2 separate regions of the Homo sapiens genome follow, and region 1 is linked to region 2. The links are contacts of gene promoters, found by promoter capture Hi-C in blood cells and fetal thymus (Javierre and others, 2016). All regions are on one chromosome and are shown on one strand. Each heading gives the region's core, a stretch centred on a gene start or on the middle of the fragment in contact. The rest is flanking DNA. Distances are from core to core; before and after follow the strand shown.

What was found. Contacts are between HindIII fragments. The CHiCAGO score rates a contact against its expected background, and 5 or more counts as called.
Region 1: a contact is called between the fragment with the promoter of CNPY3 here and the fragment with the promoter of YIPF3 in region 2, in 1 of 17 cell types (erythroblasts). The highest score is 5.1, in erythroblasts.

The regions. Positions count from the first base shown.
Region 1 is chr6:42,926,793-42,931,537 of GRCh38, forward strand. It overlaps CNPY3 (canopy FGF signaling regulator 3), which reads left to right and starts at 2,688. Exons shown (of 6, transcript NM_006586.5): 1 at 2,688-2,929. The coding sequence starts at 2,779. CNPY3-GNMT (CNPY3-GNMT readthrough) reads left to right here and starts at 2,688. Exons shown (of 5, transcript NR_134892.2): 1 at 2,688-2,929. RefSeq lists enhancers at 2,081-2,582, 2,167-2,216, 2,227-2,276, 2,583-3,084, 2,727-2,986 and 1 more. The HindIII fragment of the contact is 20,502 bases long and covers 2,009-4,745 here.
Region 2 is chr6:43,513,449-43,518,339 of GRCh38, forward strand. YIPF3 (Yip1 domain family member 3) reads right to left here and starts at 3,478. Exons shown (of 9, transcript NM_015388.4): 1 at 3,279-3,478; 2 at 2,441-2,647; 3 at 2,147-2,253; 4 at 140-185; 5 at 1-3. The coding sequence starts at 3,359. POLR1C (RNA polymerase I and III subunit C) reads left to right here and starts at 3,641. Exons shown (of 9, transcript NM_203290.4): 1 at 3,641-3,730; 2 at 3,858-3,929. The coding sequence starts at 3,662. RefSeq lists an enhancer at 3,218-3,767. The HindIII fragment of the contact is 5,758 bases long and covers 2,121-4,891 here.

The sequences.
Region 1 (4,745 bases), core at 1,438-3,937, 590 kb before region 2:
CACAGACTGAGGGAGGGTGTGGGCAGGGGCCCAACTATAGCCTCAGACTTTCTCTGGCCACTATCCCTTCCTAGCTGTCCGGCCAGATGCTGAGCCCAGGCTTCTCAATCTCCACTGTCAGGCTGGCTTAATCTTATTTCCCAGGAGGGCTTCTGAGCCGAGGTGAATCAAGGGCCATGGCCAAGCTCTGAGCCTACCCAAGTATTTTATTTTATTTTATTTTATATTTTATTTTATTATTTTATTTTTTGAGATAGGGTCTCACTCTGTCCCCCAGGGTGGAGTGCAGTGGTGCGATCTCAACTCTCTGCAATCTCTGTCTCCCAGGTTCCAGCAATTCTCCCACCTCAGCCTCTCAAGTAGCTGGGACTACAGGCACACGCCACCATGCCTGGCTCATTTTTGTATTTTTTGGTAGAGACAGGGTTTCACCACATTGGCCAGGCTGGTCTTGAACTTCTGACCTCAAGTGATCCGCCTGCCTTGGCCTCCCGAAGTGCTGGAATTATAAGTGTGAGCCACTGTGCCCAGCTTGAGCCAACCTAAGTCTTATCAAGCCTAGAAAACATGGAGGACCTTAGGAGGGTGTCCTGATCTTGTACACTGTGGAATTCCACATGCCACAGCCCCTGCCTATCCAAAGTGCTTTGTTACCAACACAGTTTTGGACAAGAAACTAAAGTCAGAAAGTGGCAAGGCCTGGGCCTCAGTGCTCTGAAGTCTTCATAAAATAGCATAAATATCCAACCTCTAGGAAGGAAACAAGAAGGTATCAGGGAACAGGGTTTTATGGCCAATTTGCAGACAACTTCCCAGAGAAGCAACTTTGGTCTGTGTGCGTCTGTAGGACACTGAGTTCAGGGGCAGCCTAAAGAAGACCAAGAGTGCTCCTCTTTATTTTTATTTGTTTATTTTTATTTTTTGAGACGGAGTCTCGCTCTGTCGCCAGGCTGGAGTGCAGTGGCGCGATCTCGGCTCACTGCAACCTCCACCTCCAGGGTTCAAGCAATTCTCCCGCCTCAGCCTCCCAAGTAGCTGGGACTACAGGCACCCACCACCACGGCTATTTTTTTTTGTATTTTTAGTAGAGACAGGGTTTCACCATATTGGCCAGGCTGGTCTCGAATTCCTGACCTTGTGATCTGCCCGCCTTGGCCTCCCAAAGTGCTGGAAATACAGGCATGAACCATCGCGCCCGGCATTTATTATTTTTGAGATGGAGTCTTGCCCTGTCGCCCAGGCTGGAGTGCAATGGCGTGATCTCGGCTCACTGCAACCTCCATCTCCCAGGTTCAAGCAATTCTCCTGCCTCCACCTCCCGAGTAGCTGGGATTACAGGCGTGTGCCACCACGCCCGGCTAACTTTTTGTATCTTTAGTAGAGATGGGGTTTCAGCATCTTGGCCAGGCTGGTCTTGAACTCCTGACCTCGTGATCCACCTACCTCGGCCTTCCAAAGTGCTGGAATTATAGGCGTGAGCCACCAAGCCCGGCCTCCTCTTTATTTTTTATTTTGATTTATTTATTTTTGAGATGGGGGGGGTGTCTCGCTATGTTGACCAGGCTGGTCTCGAACTCCTGGCCTCAAGCAGTTCTCCCTTCTTGGCCTCCCAAAGTGCTGGGATTACAGACATTAGCCACGGCGCCTGGCCTTTTTCTTCTTCTTCTTCTTTGTTGAGACAGGGTCTCAATCTGTTGCCCAGGCTGGTCTCCAACTCCTGGGCTCAGGTGATCCTTCCGCCTCGGCCTCCCAAAGTGCTGGGATTACAGGCGTGAGCCATTAAGTGTTCCCCTTAATGACACAGCAGATGAGAGTTTTACTGAGTATCTCCTTGTGCCAGGCACCCTGTTGTTGCTGGGGAAGCGGAAGGGAGAGACAATCGTTAATCGGCTAAATTTCTGCCTTCTGAGAGCTCAGAATCAAGAAATAAATAATAGGGCAGTAAAAGGGGCTGGGATTACATACAAAAAGAAAATTAATGCCTGAACTTTTTACAATCTGCTCGATAAGCTTTAATTCTATTAACCTATTTGAGCTTCCCAACAACAGGCAAGCTCCCACAGCAGCTAGGAGGATCACTTTGTCGTCATACAAATAGAAACAGGCTCAGAGAGGAAGTCATTTGTTCTAGTTCTCACTAGGACAAATCTACTGGCTACTAAAAAAGTGTGAAGGCTGGGGACAGTTTGAGTCGTCCTGCTTGCACCTTAAGCGCCTACAAGAGTGCCCGGCTATAACAACCACAATACCAATAATAAAATTTAAAAACAGATGTTCAGTAAGGACTTGCGGCATTAGGACCCCAGGAGGGAAGTGACGTTCGAGGAGGCGGAGAAAGCCGCGAAGACGGCCTTCCCCACATCTTCCAGCACCTGCGCGCCTGAATCCGTCCCACCCAGGCCCAGACGCAGGCTTCTTCTCGGGTCTTGGTCCTGCATCCTCTCTCTCCCAGAGCCTCCGTTAGGGGGTGGGAAAGGACTTTGCCATAGGTCGCTGAGGCCACCATCTGCTCTCTTACTGGCCAAGGGCGTAAAAAGATAGTCTTCCCATTAGCTAGAGAGCAAACCCCAGAAAGCCTATTGGCTGCGCCGTCCGCGGGCCTTGGTCCGCTTTGAAGGCGGGCTGCGGCTGCGAGAGGAGGGCGGGCGGGAGGCTAGCTGTTGTCGTGGTTGCTCGGAGGCACGTGTGCAGTCCCGGAAGCGGCGAGGGGAAACTGCTCCGCGCGCGCCGCGGGAGGAGGAACCGCCCGGTCCTTTAGGGTCCGGGCCCGGCCGGGCCATGGATTCAATGCCTGAGCCCGCGTCCCGCTGTCTTCTGCTTCTTCCCTTGCTGCTGCTGCTGCTGCTGCTGCTGCCGGCCCCGGAGCTGGGCCCGAGCCAGGCCGGAGCTGAGGAGAACGACTGGGTTCGCCTGCCCAGCAAATGCGAAGGTGAGGAGGCGGGGCCCGTGGGGCGTATCCTGCCGGAGGGGCTGGCTCCAGCGGTGGTGCTTGCGGAGCAGCGTCGGGGGTTGCAAGGTTCCGAGCTCTGCAGGGTGTCTTCCTTCCTTGAACAGGCTTGCGCCGGGACGCTGCGGCGGACGAGAGATCTGGTCCCGGTACCCCTGGAGTTCACACATTGGTAGAAACAAGCAATGATAATTCAGAGTAGTAGATGCCATGATAGGGGAGGTACAGAGCTTCCTTTTGGGGGCCGGACGAGGAGCATCTGGTCTAGCCTGGAGTGGGGGAGGGGGTGGGCGAAGGCTGTGTGCAGAGGGGAGTCAAAGAGGGCTTCATACAGGAAGCACGAAGAGGCATTAGGAGTTAGCCGGATGAAGAGAAGTGGAAAGAGAGGGGCCCACTCAGGAAACTACAGAGGCAGAGGCCTGCCGGCTGAGAAGCTAAGAACGAGTTTGAGGAACTGAAAAGCTCCAGATGACTCATCTTGGGGGAAAAAAACCTAAGACTTTCCCCTTTTGCCCTCACTGCAACCCAATCTGTGTAGTTGTCTGTTGCACCCACTAACAACTCCTCGAAGGCAGGAATTTTTGTCTTAGATACGTATTCACACAGTGTCTGGTAGGCACTCAATAAATGTTTTGAGAATACAGATGATTAAATGGGAGACTGTGGGTGTGTGTGAGGAGGAGGATCTGGATCTGAGGAGCCCTTTGGGGGAACAATAGAGCCTATGGGGAACTTGAAAGAAGATTTTAGGACTTTGGAGAAAAGGTGAGTCCCAAAGACATAGGCGTTGAGGAACTACAGAGAGAGAGAGAGAGGGAGCTACCAGCGAGCCAGGACTATAAAGGACCTATTTCTTTTTCCTCAACTCCGTCCCTTAGTTTTCTCCTCAGACCTTACAGTCATGCCTGCCTTCCTAGCCCCGTAACCCCAGGGCCCCCAGAAAGTTGGCTGTGAATCTCTCATCTGAATTGAAAGCCTACATCAGGCCAGATGTTCCCTAAACACTGGAAAGTGGGTTTGGGGTAAGTTTCGGACACATAATCCTTCCATTAGAGAGATTAAAAGGATGCTTTAGAGATAAGCCGACTTCACTGGTAGGGCACCCAGTATGAGTTCAAGCCTGTGCCTTCCCCCGTACATTCTTTTCTTTTTTTCCTTTTTTTTTTTTATGAGACTGTCTGGCTCTGTTGCCCAGGCTGGAGTGCAGTGGCGAGATCTCGGCTTATTGCAACCTCTGCCTCCTAGGTTCAAACGATTTTCCTGTCTCAGCCTCCTGAGTAGCTGGGATTACAGGCGCATGCCACCATGCCCAGCTAATTTTTGTGTTTTTAGTAGAGATGGGATTTCATCATATTGGTCAGGCTGGTCTTGAACTCCTGACCTCAAGTGATCCACCTGCCTTGGGCTCCCACAGTGCTGGGCTTATAGGCGTGAGCCTCTGCTCCTGGCCGCCCTTTCACTTTTCGCTCTTCCTCTAGTCCTGATAGCTTTTTTTTTTTTTTTTGAGATGGAGTTTCGCTCTTATTGCCCAGGCTGGAATGCAGTGGCGCGATCTTGGCTCACCGCAACCTCCAGTGACCCACCCTCCTCGGCCTTACAAAGTATTGGGATTACAGGCATGAGCCACCGTGCCTGGCCTTTTTTTTTTTTTTGAGACGGAGTCTTGCTCTGCCCAGTCTGGAGTGCAGTGGTGCGACCTTGACTCGCTGCAACCTCCGTCCCCCAGGTTCAAGGATTCTTCTACCTCAGCCTCCCGAGTAGGTGGGACTACAGGTGTGTGCCACCACTCCCGGCTATT
Region 2 (4,891 bases), core at 2,228-4,727:
TTTCTGTCAATATACCAATTCATTCAGGCTGGAGGGTACAACAGCTCATCTGTTTATGGCTTCCCAGGATTTGCCTGGTGGTCCCACCCTCTGCCCTGGTGCTTCCCCCGGCTCTCCAGACATGCCACCCTCTATTCACCTGGGGGAAGTTGACCATCTTGATAGGGATCATGGACTCCAGGAGCCTGGGAGAGGAGAGGAGAGATTAAAGCAAAGGCAGCACAAGGCCATGAGGTTCTGGAGGGCAAGGCCTGAATTTTATTCATCTCTAACTCCAGGGAATGGGGCCTGGCCTAGAAGACATGTTGGATGACACGGTAGAACAGGGTAGTAAAGACAGATAGGGAATGAGGAAATCATTTCCTTGCCCCTAAAGTTACTTCCAGGAAGGACAACCCTCTGAAACTTAGCTGACTGAAACAGCAGCTATATGGAGAACTCAGCCCTACTGGGCCTTGAAGGAGGGCCCGACCATGTATCCGTCTGCCCCCTCCCCTTGAAAAGACAGGCAGGCTGGGCGCGGTGGCTCACGCCTGTAATCCCAGCACTTTGGGAGGCCGAGGCAGGCAGATCACAAGGTCAGGAGTTTGAGGCCAGCCTGGCCAATATGGTGAAACCCTGTCTCTACGAAAAATACAAAAAATTAGCTGGGCATGGTGGCGGGCGCCTGTAGTCCCAGCTACTCAGGAGGCTGAGGCAGGAGAATTGCCTGAACCCGGGAAGCGGAGGTTGCAGTGAACCGAGATCGCGCCACTGCACTCCAGCCTGGGTGACAGAGTGCGACTCCATCTCAAAACAAAACAAAACAAAGACATGACAAGACAGGCAGACCTCAGCAGAGAGTACCCAGAATTCAGGGTTATAATGAGGAAGCCCTGGGAAAAGTCTAGCCGGCTAGATGGAAAGTTTAGAATGAAAGGTGTTACTGAGGGAATAGTAAAAACGCCTCCTCTTCCTGCTTATCTGTGCCTCCAGGCACTTTCGAGTATTTTCTTGAAAAATATATGTGAAGTGGTATGAAAATTTAGTCACTTCCCTCTTCTCTCAAGTGGCTAGCTCCTAATCATACCTGGGATTTTAGCTAGGTTTTACTTCCTCTGGGAAACTTGTCCTGTCCCACCCACCAACCTGCTTTGGCTCACATATCCCTCCTGTGTGCCCCATCATAGAATGAGTACTGTACTGTAACTGCACTCAAGAGCAAGGCTCCCATCTATCTTCACCACTGAACCAGATACGATTAGTTTAGCGTCTGGCACAGAGCAAATGCTTAATAAATACCTGCTGAGTGGTCCTGGGTATTTGATTAGCATTGATTAAAGGATGAACAAAAAAACCAAGCCAGGATTAAATCTAGTTCTTGAAAAGTCACTCAAAAACTATGCCCTGATATTTTGATTCTGAGACTGTTCTGGTGCTGGGAATAAAAAGATAAACAAGACAGAGCCTGCTTTTGAGATGCTGTTGGTCTCTGGAAGGAAGATTCCAGGAATAAGAAAGGATAGCAGTGGTGAAGTGCTGTCTATTAGAGGCAAGCGCAGAGTTCTTTTTTTTTTTTTTTTGAGATGGAGTCTCACTTTGTTGCTCAGGCTGAAGTGCAGTGGCACGATCTCGGCTCACTGCAAGCTCCGCCTCCGCCTCCCAGGTTCATGCCATTCTCCTGCCTCAGCCTCCCGAGTAGCTGGGACTACGGGCACCCGCCTGTCTAATTTTTTTTGCATTTTTAGTAGAGACAGGGTTTCACCGTGTTAGCCAGGATGGTCTCGATCTCCTGACCTTGTGATCCGCCCGCCTCGGCCTCCCAAAGTGCTGGGATTCCAGGCGTGAGCCACCATGCCCGGCTGGCAAGCACAGAGTTCTATAGGAACACCAGGAGAGAACAAACTGGGGATGGGATTGAGGAATGTGGAACAGAGGAAGTGACATCTGAGGTAGGTTTTGAGGGAAGATGAGTAGTCAGTTAGATGGAAAAGAAGAGGAAGATGGTGTGCTATTATTACTTGTTTCAGTGACAGGTGCAGTGATGAGAGGTGATGGGGTCATGAAGACGGGGAGCCCATCAGAGCCCAGGGCTTGAAATCTGACTGTAGTGTGCATGAAGGTCTAGGTGTTAGGAGGGAAGCTTCTTCAAGAGAAGGCTCCTCACCTGCTTCGCACCTGAGCAGGCTCCACATCAAAGTAGGGTCTGAGGATGTCGATGTTGGCGTACAAGCTGAAGGCCCTGGAGGCTTGTCTTTTCCCAGCCTGCCACATCTGAAGTAAGGAAGATGGGCATAGGTATTGTGGTACTGTTGGTTCTAGATCCTGTTGCCTATTTTCCGTTTGATTTCTACATGGTTCTAACTGGACAACCTGGGGCGAACATCACCAACACCAATTCCAGAACACGGGACATACCTAGGTCTACTTTTCTACCTGCAGAGGATTCAATCTTGCTTACCTGATCTGCCACCTGCCGGCTCAGCTGTCCCTTAAAGCCCTTCATGCCCAGGAACTCTCCATCCTCCTCTTCAGCAGCAGCTGCATCAGCTGCATCAGCGTCTACTTCTTCCTCGCGCAGGCGCTGATGCAGCTCACCCATATCCTCGAAGCTAGAGCCTGAGGTATCATCCATGTTCTCCATGTCAATCACAGCTGAGCCTCCGCCCTGTGAAGACAATGGCTCCTAGAGTGCAGGACTTTTCTGTTCCATCCATTAAGTCCTCTGCTCATCCCAGGGTTTAGGGCTTTGTTCTTCCACTGCTGAGGATACGGCTTGGAATCACTACAGATCATGCCACTCCATTCCCCCTCATATGCTCTCAGAACGCCTGGTTTCTAGCTTTGGCTATCTTTTCTAGCCTGGGAAACCTACTAGTCTTCCATTCATGTCTTTCTCCTATGTTACCTATCAAAGACTAAAAGGCTGAAAAAGTGCCCATTTCCTTCTTTCCTAAGCCCCAAACAAAACTATACACATAGTATGTTTTCAGCGAATGCCAGTGAATCCCACCCAACCCCACTCCATGCCTTACCCCGACCAACCTCCTAACTTGTTCCAAGAATACCTTCTTCCTAATGCCTCGGGCGGGCCCTGAAACCCGAGATCCTCAGGCTGGAGTAGTAGTCTGGCCCTTTCAGGTCAATGTTAATCCCACTGACTTTAGTGTGCACGAAGACCCAAAGAAGAGAGTTTTGTAAATGGAGCGGACTTCCAGGCCCAGAGGGGGAATCCCCAAGACACTTCTGGACATCGCCGGCCCTCCGGCTGCTGGCAGCTGGTGCCTTGGGGCCATTACCTGGATGTTTTCTTCGAACCCTCCCCATTCCGGGCCAGCTCCATTTCGGGCGCCGCCCGCCGGCGCCGCTGTAGTTGCCATGTCCCTTGAGGGCTCCCGTCGCTGAAACCCGCGCTAGCCCCGCGCGCGGAGTGGGCAAGATGTGGGCCTCCGGAAGGTAGACGTCCAGGGTCGAGGAGAGGTGGGATCGGCCGGAACACAAAAAGGAGAAGCCCGGATGTTTGGACAAAAGCAACTTCCGGAAGCTGGGGACGTGGACGGGGGCGGGGAAAAATCTCGCGATATTTAAGATTCCAGGAGGCGGTGCGTTGCCACGGAGACGGAGCAGGGCTACTAGGACGCACGCGCGAGATAGAACCTCTAGTCTCGTGGAGAGATTGAAGATGGCGGCTTCTCAGGCGGTGGAGGAAATGCGGAGCCGCGTGGTTCTGGGGGAGTTTGGGGTTCGCAATGTAAGCCTTGTGGCCTTGAGCTCGGGCGGGAGGAATGAGAGCGGAACAGGGATGGGTCTTGGGATTGGCGTGGGGATAGCTGTGGGCTCACTGTCCCTTCGTGGACAAATTCGTCCCTTTGCTCTAGGTCCATACTACTGACTTTCCCGGTAACTATTCCGGTTATGATGATGCCTGGGACCAGGACCGCTTCGAGAAGGTAAGTGGGGCCGGAGTTGTCTGGGGAGGGTTATGAAGGCCAGACCTTGTGGTCTGAGCAGCCTGTGTCTGTCTCAGAAGCTGCTCTTGGGGGTCGCTCCGTTTGTAAGTTTGTTGAGCAATGTGCTAGACGCTCCGTTTACAGGCCAAATTAGACACGGTTTCTACCCAGTTCTGCAAAGATGTTCAGTCTTGTTGAGGAATGGTGTGTATAAACAGTGAATCTAGTGTAATATGGTGAAGGTGGTTGATAGCGATGAAGACGGCAGGGTTGGGGTGGGGAGCATTACGCTGAGACCAGGAAGAGGGGCGGAGAGGTACTTAACATTTCAAGAGGAGGGTACATCTCAATTGAGCCTTGAATGGTAAGTAAAAAAGAACAGGAGTTAAATTATGAAGGGTTTGTTTCAAGTCAGTGAAGTTCAGGATATACAGGTTTTGTGTGTATTTAGTCTTTTGTATTGTTTCACTTAGCTTAAAATAAGGGTTAAAATTGCATTTAAATAGATTACTGAATGTTACCGTTTAGGCAACTGACCTTTGCGTGCAGCTTATAAACATGATCTGTAAATCAGTGCTTGGGAAAATTTTACTTTTTTAACCTGTTGATACAAGGAATAAAGTATGAACAATGAAAAAGGTTAATGCTTGAAAAAAAATTATGGCTTGTGTGAAGTGTGCTCCGGGCATGTCCAAGTAGTTCTGGCATGAGTGGTAGGCAAGGTTGAAGTGTGTCTTGGGCACTGTTGATGATAGGGAGATTGAATAGTTCTTAAGCAGACATGATGAGATTTGCAACCTTGGTGGCTGGGAGGGAATGAGTTTGAGGAGGATCATATGGAGCAGGCAGATCTGTTGTAAGGGAAGCTGAGGTTGAAGACATGAACTAAGACTGATGGTAGAAATAGAGCAAAGGTAGAATAGAAGGTAAATTTATGATTGCTTTGGTAAAGGCTGTGGGGG